Regions from separate parts of the Homo sapiens genome. Here regions 2, 3 and 4 are each linked to region 1. Evidence: promoter capture Hi-C in 16 types of primary human blood cells and fetal thymus (Javierre and others, 2016). All regions are on one chromosome and are shown on one strand. The core of a region is centred on a gene start or on the middle of the fragment in contact, and the rest is flanking DNA. Distances in the headings are between cores, read along the strand shown.

Region 1 (2,700 bases), core at 117-2,616:
CGTCTTCTGTAACAAATGACCACAAATATGGTGGCTTAGAACAACATACATGTATTCTGTCACCGTTCTGGAGGCCAGAAGTCCCAAGGCTGTGAAATCGAGGTGTTGGAAGGCCCACATCCCTCCAGCGGCTCTAGGGGAGAATCCATTCTTGCCCCTTCCAGCTCCTGTGGCTGCTGGTGTTCCCTGGAGTGGGGCAGGATCTCGCTAACCTCTGCCTGCCTCATTTCATCACCTCTCCTTTTTGTCTATTGTCAAATCTTCTTCTGCCTTCCTCTTAGGACACTTGTGTATTTAGGGTCAGGATAATCTTCCCATCTCGAGATCCTTAACTTAGTCATAGCAGCAAAAACCCTTTTCCCAGATAAGGGACTATTTACAGGTTCTCAAGATGAGGACCTGGTATCCTTGGGGGACCATTTTCTAGTGTGCCACAAACACTGAAGTTCAAAAAGCATTGGTGTGGTTGACATCCTTCGGGTAGACCAGATGTAGGAAACTGGAGCCCAGAGAGAAGTGACTAATCCAAGGTCATACAGCTTGTAACTCACTTCTGAGATTGGAATCAAGGCTCCTGATTCCAAGGCCTTTCTGGGAATCCTGGCTTCAAGGAATAGTGATACCTGACATTCACTGAATGTTACTTCATACTGTTCTAAGCAGATGACATGTACTATCTCATCACTCTTCCGAACAACCCTTTGTGGTAGGCTCTCCTATGCTCTTCCAGTTTATAGATAAAAAAACTTAGGAGAAAAGAGGTTAAACAACTTGCCCAACATGACAGAGCAAATTACCGGGGGAGCTGGGATAGAAACCGAGGCAGTCAGAGGCCAAAGCGTTCACTCACAGGTGGAACCTCCTCCAGTCAGGCTTATTCCAAATCTGGCCTGTGAATCACTACTCTCTGGTATTTTTTGCCTTCCTAGGAAATATGCACCAAAACATTTCTGGCAGGAAAGGAGGCCCCTGTAACTACTTGCCTTCTTCCTGCTCAGAGCCATGCCTCCAATTCCTTGATGAATATTTGCTTCAAGCTGCTCAATAAGCCTTCTCATCTCAGTCAATGGGCTTGAAGCAAGGTAAGCAGGTCTTGCAAAGAGGTGTGTGGAGGGAATGCCGGGGTGGGGTCAAGATCCTAATGGATTTCTTAGGCTAATGGCCTGGGATGGGCCCTGGAAAGTTCCCAGACCCCAAATTATTTGCAAAAGGCAGAAGAAGAAGGTGGGGCAGATTGGCCTGGACCTTGGGTACATATTTGTCCCTGGCCATGACTCACTTCCTTCTGGAACAGGGCCTCAGGTGAAATGTTTGTCTGCTCCACCTCCTTTAGTGCCTTATAGCTCCCCTCCCAGTGGAGCAGGTGTCTGAGAGTACAGTGCAGCCCTGCCCTTCTGTCCACCCTACAGAGCCCACGGCCATGGCAGCCCAGGCAGCTGGTGTATCTAGGCAGCGGGCAGCCACTCAAGGTCTTGGCTCCAACCAAAACGCTTTGAAGTACTTGGGCCAGGATTTCAAGACCCTGAGGCAACAGTGCTTGGACTCAGGGGTCCTATTTAAGGACCCTGAGTTCCCAGCATGTCCATCAGCTTTGGGCTACAAGGATCTTGGACCAGGCTCTCCGCAAACTCAAGGCATCATCTGGAAGCGGCCCACGGTAAGGAAGCGGGCTTGCTGTTGAGTGACATACAAGGTGGAGGGGCCTTACATCTGATCAGGAGGAACTGAGGGAGAAGTTGAGGCTGTGGACCCTAAGTGTCTGGATCTCATATTTCAGATCCCTCCACCACCACCTTTTTTAATTTTATTTTTTTGAGATGGAGTCTTGCTCTGTCACCCAGGCTGGAGTGCAATGGCATGATCTCAGCTCACTGCAACCTCTACCTCCTGGGTTTGAGTGATTCTCCTGCCTCAGCCTCCCGAGTAGCTGGGATTACAGGCATGTGCCACCATGTCTGGCTAATTTTGTATTTTTAGTAGAGATGGGGTTTCTCCATGTTGGTCAGGCTGGTCTCAAACTCCCAACCTCAGGTGATCCATCTGCCTCAGCCTTCCAAAGTGCTGGGATAGCAGGCATGAGCCACTGCATCTGGCCCCCCCATCACCTTTTGAACTCTTATTTTTTTTGAGGCAGAGTCTCACTCTGTCACCCAGACTGGAGTGCAGTGGTGCGATCACAGTGCACTGCAACCTCAACCTTCCTGGGCTCAGGTGATTTTCCTACCTTAACCTCCCAAGTAGCTGGGATTATAGGCACGTGCCACCACACCCAGCTAATGTTTACATATTTTTGTAGAGACAGGGTTGTGCTGTGTTGCCCAGGGTGGTCTTGGACTCCTGGGCTTAAGCCATCTGCCCACCTCAGCCTCCCAAAGTGTTAGGATTACAGATGTGAGCCACTACACCCAGCCTGAACTCTTGTTCAGAGATGGTGAGGTATAGAGAGAAGAGCATGGATGAGCTTTGGAACTAGGTAAGATAGATTTGAATCCTAGCTCTGCCTGTGTTGTTTTGGGCCGGTAAACTCTGTGAACCTTAGTTTTCTCATCTGTAAAATGGCATTTACTGGCACCTTATTTTTCAGGGTTGGTATGAGAATTAGAGATAAATCTCAGAGCATAGTGCCCAGAACATAATAGATGCAGAATACGTAGTTGTTATTACTGCATATGGTCCCTGGGCCAGTGCACAATGGAACAA
Region 2 (2,700 bases), core at 35-2,534, 570 kb after region 1:
CTTGAGATCAGGAGTTCAAGACCAGCCTGGCCAACATGGCAAAACCCTGTCTCTACTAAACACACACACAATTAGCTGGGCATGGTGGCATGCACCTGTTAGCCCAGCTACTCAGGAGGTTGAGGCATGAGAATTGCTTGAACCCAGGTAGTGGAGGTTGCAGTGAGCCAAGATAGCACCACTGCACTACAGCCTGGGCGACAGACTGAGACTCTGTGTCAAAAAAAAAAAAAAAAAAAGTTATCATTTAGAAGACATGTGACTGACATGTATGTAAATAAAATGATAAGGAGAATTTGCTTTAAAATATTTCCATAGAGATAGGTGCAGGGAGGAGGAACAAATGAGATAAGATTGGCCATTTGTTGGTCATTGTCGACACTATGTAATGGGTACATGGGGGTTCATTATACTATTCTATTTTTGTGTATGTTCAAAATTTTCTACTATTAAAAGTTTTTTTAATTTTAAAATAAAAAATAAGTAAAAATGGGAAATTTAGAGGTAGACACTCATGCAGGAAAAGTGCCAGGTGAAGATGAAGGCAGGGATCGTAGTGAAGCTTCTACAAGCCGAGGATCACCAGCAAACCACCAGAAGCCAAGGGAGAGGCCAGGAACAGACTCTCCCCACAGCCCTCAGAAGGGTCCAACCCTGCTGACACCTTGATCTTGGACTTCCAGCTTCCAGGACTGTGAAACAAGACATTTCTTTGGTTCAAGCCACTCCCTTAGTGCACATTGTTATGGCAGCCATGGAAAACCATCCACAGAGGGTCAGTTCCTATGGAGGTGGGGTGAGTGACGAGATGTTCCTGACTGGGCTGACAACGGAGGACGAGAGAGCTTGGGTGTGGATGGGAAAATAACTAGAAACTTCCCTTGATCTCTCAGCATTCTGTTCCATCCCTGTCACTTCGATGTCTCTCTTTCTTGAATATGGAAGCAGCCCTGGGCCCAGCTGCTGCAGGTGGCCAGGAAGGAGCCTGGGAGGATGACGGGGTTCCTGATCTGATAGAACTGGGCTGTGACTAGGCAGAACCCTGTTCCACCACACACACCCCAGTGGAGGTCAGTACCCCAAATCTGACACCAGGATGTAGCATGTCCATGGAGTCTGTCTGCTGACACCTGTCCCACCCTCCCCTGGCCCGTAACTTTGAGAGATACTGCAATTCCTACCGATGTTGCTGCCATCCTTTATTCAGCCCATTATCAGAAGTTATGACACATTGCAAAATGCTCAGGCTAGTTGAATTTCTGCAACAGGGCAAGGCGGTTAAATCCTGTCCTTCCTGGAGTCTCATTGACCAGGCTTTGAATCCCAATTCTACCATGGATTAGATTTGCAACTTTGGCAAATTGATGAACTCTTCTGAGCTTTGGACTAATAATAGGGTTTTGTGAGGAATACCTGAGATAATGCATGTACAACACCTTGCATGTTGTTTAGCACCTACTAGAAATGCAACCAACTCTAGCTGTTATCGCTAGTTTTTCTCTTGCTCCATCTCCATTCCTGAGATGTGCATGGCTACTCTGTGTTTGTTGTTGGGAAGAGCCGTAGACAGTCGTATCCTCTTCCTGAGAATGGTAACTGAGCTGCCCCCTTGGGACTGTCCAGGGGCTGGCCATTAGCCCCACGAGGCAGCAACAAAACCAACAAGACAAGTCTGTTTACTCTTCTGGTCTATAATTTAAAATGTGTTTGATGCTACTTTTTTTTTTTCTTTTTAGGACGTTCTGTATCTGTGATGAATGACCCCTGCATACATTATATCTTTCAGTAAAAACAGTGGTGTTTCAGTAGTGTTACTAGCTAAGCTGCTTAACTCTCACATTACAGACGTCAGTGAAGCCCCTTGGTAGGTAGTGTCTAAAATTAGATTTATCTGCTTATTTACACAATTATACTCTCATGAGTTTGAATGTTGGGGAAAGATCAAGAAAAAGACCAGATCACTAGATGGCAATAGCACACAAGAGCTTTATTTGGATGAAGCTTGGACAGAATGCATGGAAGGGGAAAGTCCCTTGCAGCAGAAGACCTTCCAGAGGCAGTGGCAGGGCCACCACCAGAAGAAAAGGGCAAGGACACTCCCAGGGGAGAGGAGGATCAGAGAGGAGGTTACAGGTCTAAGAGATGTCACAGGTCTAGAAGAAAAGAAAAGGAGCCAGGTGCAGTGGCTCACACCTGTAATCCCAGCACTTTGGGAGGCCCAGGCGGGCAGATTGCTGAGTTCAGGAGTTTGAGACCAGCCTAGGCAAACATGGTGAAACCCCATCTCTAAAAAAAGATTTAAAAATTAACCAGGCCTGGTGGCATGTACCTGAAGTCTCATTTACTTGGGGGGCTAAGGCTGGAGGATCGTTTGAACCCAAGAGGGTTCATGGTGGGGAGCATCATGGTGAGGAGTCTCTGGGTCAGAGAGCTCCAAAGGACAGCAGCCATTTGGGGTCTTTTGTAGCCCTGAGGTTCGTCTTACCTATGGTGAGAGGGTGTCGGGTGTAGTTTTGCAAATTATCGAAGCAGGCAGGCTCTAAATGGGCAAATAATATTTGGCCTACATTTAAAGCAATTGGATGTGCAAGAATTTGAGTTTGGTGCTGGCAGGCTTGAGTTAACGGTCCTGGGCTGTGGTGTGGAAGTAAACAGCATGGGGGCCAATACACAGGGGCTGTCTTGAACTCGTTCATACAA
Region 3 (2,700 bases), core at 116-2,615, 540 kb after region 1:
TTTGTTGGGCATGGTTCCGGTGGGATGCTGTATTATGCAGCTAGAGAATGTATTTGTCCTGGAAGAGTTCACTTTGTTCACTGCCCTCGAGCCTTTATCCAAGGCTAAACCCACATGCTGTACCTACTTTTGGAATTGGTCCAGGAATTTTATACCTGTGTGAATTTGGAGAAACTCTCTCAGACACCCATTTGGAAATGCATTAGTGTTTTTCTCAGTGAGTCCTCCATGCTTGCTGTTCCAATGGCCCTCCAGGTTTGGGCCCAGCACCTGCCAGGAGAAGCATTCCCTCTATAGCTTCCACCTGACCACAGCCAGCCCAAGCCCTGCTCAGAACCCCAGGCCTGCCAGCGAGCCTGTGACTGGAATTATCTATTAGGGATCAAGCATTAACTTGACACAGGAGCAGCCCTGGCTCAGCTGGAGGCATCCGCATGCTGTGGTGCCCCAGGAACAGAGGCACCCCTGAAATGCAAGCTGTGTGTTTGCTGCAGAGACACCATGGCCCATAACTCCCCAAGCATAAGTGAGCAGCTCTGCTGTCCAGGCAATGAAGTCAAGAAAGGGAACCAACCCAGCTAATGGCTGGGATTAAAGCTAAATGAATTCAGCTCAAATGAAAGGGATACTGACCCTTCTCCCTCTGGCCTCATTAACTTAATTAACAGTGCTTGGCAGGAGTATTGAAGCCTGCATTGATTGTTCTGTTTCTGTTTTTCCCCCTCAAAGCCCTAGATACAAGTTAAATCAGCCTTAATAATAAAAACCCAATACTCAACAGCCCTCAGATTTTCTTACCAGCCCTTCTTCCTCTAAGAGAATCACTTGGTTTCTGAGTTGGAGGGGATCCATTAGACCAACACTTCTCAGAGCATGGCCTGAGACCACTAGCTTCAGAGTAACTGGGATATGGCTATAAAATGCACTTTCCAGGCCTCAGAGGCCTGTGGAACTGGAATATTGAGAAGTCCAGTTTGGGTATTTGTAGTGGGTTTTGGGGGTTTAATTTAATTTTTTTAATTGTGGTAAAATAGACATATAATTTTCATTTTATAAAAAATGTCCATTTTAATAATTTTTAGGCAGACAGTTCAGTGACATTAAGTACATTCACTACTGTTTGTCTCCAGAATGTTTTCATCATCCCAGACTGAAACTCTGCCCATTAAACGCTAACTCCCCATCCTCCCCTCCCAGCCCCTGGTAACTTCTGCTCTGCTTCCTATCTCTGAATTTATCTATTCTAGATATCTTGTAAGTGGATTCATGCAATATTTGTTCTTTTGTGACTGGCTTATTTTACTCAGCATAATGTCTTCAAAGTTCATCCGTCTTGTACCGTGTGTCAGAATTCCATTCCTTTTTAAGGCCGAAAAATATCCCATTATATAGACAACAAATTTTGTTCATTTATTCATTCATTGGTGGATATTTGGGTTGTTTCCACCCTTTGACTATTGTGAGTGATACTGCTATGAATATTGGTGTGCAAATATCTGTTGAGCTTCTGCTTCCAGTTCTTTTGGGTGTACACCCAGAAGTGGAATTGCTGGGTCATGCGACAGTTAGTTCTGTGTTTCATTTTTTGAGTCAGTACTGTTTTTAAGCAGCCCACATGGTTCTAAGCTGCAGTCAGGGTTGCAGCCAGAAGACCAGGTGATCAGACTCTCTGCTGGTGGAGTCACCTGAAGACTCTGAACAACCCTGGATGCCCAAGCCACACTCCACACCAACTAAATTTGTAATTTTTTAAAGTCTCCTGGTGATTCCGGTGTGTAGCCAAGTTTGAGAACCATTGGTTTCCATCAGTGATTCTCAAATTTGAGTGTGTATAAAATTCACACAATGGCTAAGGATACAGATTCCTGAGAGAGCACACCACCACCCCCCCACCAACACCACAACCCCCACCGCCACCACCATCACCACCAACCACCGCCAATCCCAAAGAGGCTCATTTAATGCATCTGTGGTCAGTCTGGGCTTCCTGGGTCTGAAGACTTCCCAGGTGATTCTAGTGTGTAGCCAAGGCTGAGAGCTACTAATCTTGTTAAGTCTTTCAATGAAACATGAGAACACTGAGAGTGTGAAAGGTGACACACTCTGCCCAAGTCCCTGAGCTCGTTAGGTTCTGAGTCTGCACTCATTCCCAGGGCTGATTTTCAAGACAGTCCCACGGGTTCTCCATACTCAGCCTTGCAGGTGCAGGGGGTAGAATCTTATATAGAACCTGCATCTTTTCTACTCTTAATTTGAACTGTAATCCTTGAATTAGAGTGTAGTCAGTGCTGCTATAATGCTTGTTTTGGAATGTAAATTTGTTTCTAACGTGATTGATGTATTAGGGAACAATATTAATGTGTTAGGGAAGACTATTGATATGCTGGAGAATAATATTAACATATTCAAGAATGTGAATTTCACATTTGCTTATGTGCAATTTCTTGCATGTAAAGGCAGAAAACTGCACCCAGCTGTGCCAAAACACAAAAGAATACACAAAATACACCTCCAATATTAGTCAGCTACCTCATTCTCCATGTGTGATTTGAGCCACATGCACCCACATCTGTTGCTGTAACTTCCCCTCTGATATCAAACAACCCTTCTTCCCCCATTCACAATAACTCACTGGCGGAGTGCGGTGGCTCAGGCCTGTAATCCTAGCAATTCTGAAGGCTGAGGCAGGTGGATCACCTG
Region 4 (2,700 bases), core at 34-2,533, 880 kb after region 1:
GGGGATTACAGTTAGAAATGAGATTTGGGTGGGGACACAGAGCCAAACCATATCACTCCCACAGGCCCCTGGCAACCACCATTTCTGTTTTCTGTTTCTATGATTTTGACTACTCTAAGTACCTCACATAAGTTGAGTCATACAATATTTGTCTATTTGTCCCTGGCTTATTTCATTTAGCATAATATCCTCAAGCTTCATCCACCTTATAGCATGTGTCAGAATTTACTCTCTTTTTGGAGTTGAACAATATTTCATTGTAGGTAATTAAAACGTTTATCCATGCATTCATTGATGGACACTTGGGTTACTTCCATCTTTTGGCTCTTGCAAATAGTGCCTCTATGAACATGGGTGACATAGTTTGGCTCTGTGTCCCCACCCAAATCTCATGTTGAATTGAAATTTTCGCTTGTCAGGAGAGGGGCCTGGTGGGAGGTGATTGGATCATGGGTGTGGATTTCCCCCTTGCTGTTCTCATCATAGTGTTCTCACAAAATCAAAAAATTTTAAAACACAAAATAGTTTAAAAGTATGGCACTTCCCCCTTCTCTCTCTCTCTCCTACCACCATGTGAAGACCTGTCTTGGTTCCGTTTTGCCTTCTGCCATGATTGCAAGTTTCCTGAGGCCTCCCCAGCCATGCGGAACTGTGAGTCAATTAAACCTCTTTTCTTCATAAATTACCCAGTCTCAGGCAGTTCTTCATAGCAGTGTGAGAATACAATGTGTGTACAAATATCTCTGAGTCTCTGCTTACAGTTCTTTGGAATATATATCTAGCAGTGGAACTGCTACATACTAGGTAATTCTATTATATATTTTTTGAGAAACTGCCATACTGCTCCATACTTCCAAGTTTTAATAAGTCCATATTCTTCTATTAGTTTCCTAAGCTCTAGGGAACAAAGCTTCTCCCTGAAGCTGCTTCCTTTCTGATACCTTAGTTATTTTTAGTTCTTTAATACCTATTTAATAGTTAGTTGTATTAAGTTGCTGCTCTTAAAATAACAGTTGTGATTAGTCTTTGCTGGAGATTAATTTTGTGGGAGGTAAACTTTACAAATTAATATTTAGTTATAGAGTATTCAGATTGCATTATGACTGGATTTGAGGAACAATTAATAGTATTCTGATTGGATTCAGATAGCTGTGTCCACTATTATGTGACAAATCAAGGACAGGCCCTTCAGCACATCCTCCAAGGGCTTCTCATGCACTGGGCCACTCCCACTTGGCCCCAGATCAGTTTTCCAGCCATATTCTTCATTCACCCTACCTTCTGCTCCAATGAGACCTCTTCCCATTCTCCCCACAAAGTCTTCAGCCTGCTCACCCTATTTCCTCCTCTTACATAGGAACAGCAGAACAGATGACTGGGTGCACCTGTTAGGTGCTGGACACTGCGGTAAGTGCTCTCATGCATGTCATTTCATTTTTTACTCAGAGCAACCTTGTGTCTTAGTATGTTCGGTCTATTATAACAAATACCATAAACTAGGTGGCTTATAAACAGAAATTTATTTCTTGCAGTTCCAGAGACTAGAAGTCCAAGATCAAGGTGCCAGTAGATTTGGTGTCTGGTGAGGACCTGCTTTCTGGTTCATAGTACAGCACCTCCTGACTGTGTCATGATGAAAGGGGCAAGGAAGCTTCCTTGGGCCTCTGTTGTAAGGGCATTAATCCCATTCATGAGGGCTCTGCCCCAGTGACTCATCACCTCCCCAAAAGCTCCACCTCCTAATATTATCACCTTGGGGATTGGGATTTCAACATACAAATTTATCAGGGGACAGAAACATTCAGACGATAGCACCTTGTGTCATCATTTTCCTAATTTTAGTCATAAGAGAATTAAAACTCAGAGAGGTTAAGTGACTTTCCTATAGTCACACAGCTAATTAGTTTGACAGCCAAGATTCCAGCAGCCTTAATATCTTTTTCCAGTGCTATCTATTTGTCAAAACCCTATCTAGTTTTCAACACTCTGGGAACATTCCACCTGCTCCATTAAGCCTTTGCCAGTCCTTCTATGTGGAATAAAATCTTCATTTTTCCGTTCACCAATAGCACTGTGTCTGAACCATTTTTAGAGGTGTTACAACATCATCTTACTTAGATGGAGTTTCTGTTTACTATATTTTTGTCTCCTTGAGGGCAGGCATCATGCCTTCTTCATCTTCACACTCCCACCACTGGAACTGAGCAGAGTGCCTTGTATATTATAGTACCCAATAAATGTTGATGAGCTTGAACCTCTAGGGATTACTTAGGGAGATTTGCACCACCAGGATTCATCTGTTTGGAAAATGGCTAGTTGGTTACCCTGTGACCCAGTGTTTGACTCTTCGGGTTTTGTAGGAGTCCGTATCAGTACAGTCAGACATTCCTTTTCAAGTGCTGCAAACATATGCTGTTCACAAAGCTCACTGGAGGATCTCACATCTGAAATAACCTCCCTCAGCTGTGGGGCCACACCCGGGGTTTGGCTGCCTTGAAGTGGGAGGCGTAAGGCAAATAATAGTGTTTAAGTCATTTGTTTTGTGTGGTTTCTATGTTTATTGGGATTCACTTGACCAGCCAATGTGGAATATTATATGTATAACATACATTATAATGACTATTGTTTATCTCCTTATGTGCAGCTACGGAGGACTTTGAAGGGATGTGAAAAAAGTGCTTAGATACTGTTTCAGGGGCA

The links. Contacts are between HindIII fragments. The CHiCAGO score rates a contact against its expected background, and 5 or more counts as called.
Region 2: a fragment that was not itself captured here is called in contact with the fragment with the promoter of CAPN8 in region 1 in 2 of 17 cell types (total CD4 T cells and naive CD8 T cells); the score reaches 6.0 in total CD4 T cells.
Region 3: a fragment that was not itself captured here is called in contact with the fragment with the promoter of CAPN8 in region 1 in 4 of 17 cell types (naive CD4 T cells, naive CD8 T cells, total CD4 T cells and 1 more); the score reaches 7.8 in naive CD4 T cells.
Region 4: a contact is called between a fragment that was not itself captured here and the fragment with the promoter of CAPN8 in region 1, in 1 of 17 cell types (fetal thymus). The highest score is 5.1, in fetal thymus.

Annotation. Positions count from the first base shown.
Region 1 is chr1:223,664,367-223,667,066 of GRCh38, reverse strand. It overlaps CAPN8 (calpain 8), which reads left to right and starts at 1,366. Exons shown (of 21, transcript NM_001143962.2): 1 at 1,366-1,657. The coding sequence starts at 1,421. The HindIII fragment of the contact is 20,763 bases long and covers 1-2,700 here.
Region 2 is chr1:223,092,458-223,095,157 of GRCh38, reverse strand. It overlaps LOC102724046 (a long non-coding RNA gene), which reads left to right. Exons shown (of 2, transcript XR_007066892.1): 2 at 684-2,700. Among named protein-coding and RNA genes, the nearest start is that of TLR5, 49 kb to the left of the region's middle. The HindIII fragment of the contact is 1,439 bases long and covers 565-2,003 here.
Region 3 is chr1:223,124,837-223,127,536 of GRCh38, reverse strand. All of the region lies in intron 5 of TLR5 (toll like receptor 5), which reads left to right. Among named protein-coding and RNA genes, the nearest start is that of TLR5, 17 kb to the left of the region's middle. The HindIII fragment of the contact is 9,495 bases long and covers 1-2,700 here.
Region 4 is chr1:222,787,671-222,790,370 of GRCh38, reverse strand. No RefSeq gene overlaps it. Among named protein-coding and RNA genes, the nearest start is that of DISP1, 26 kb to the left of the region's middle. The HindIII fragment of the contact is 741 bases long and covers 913-1,653 here.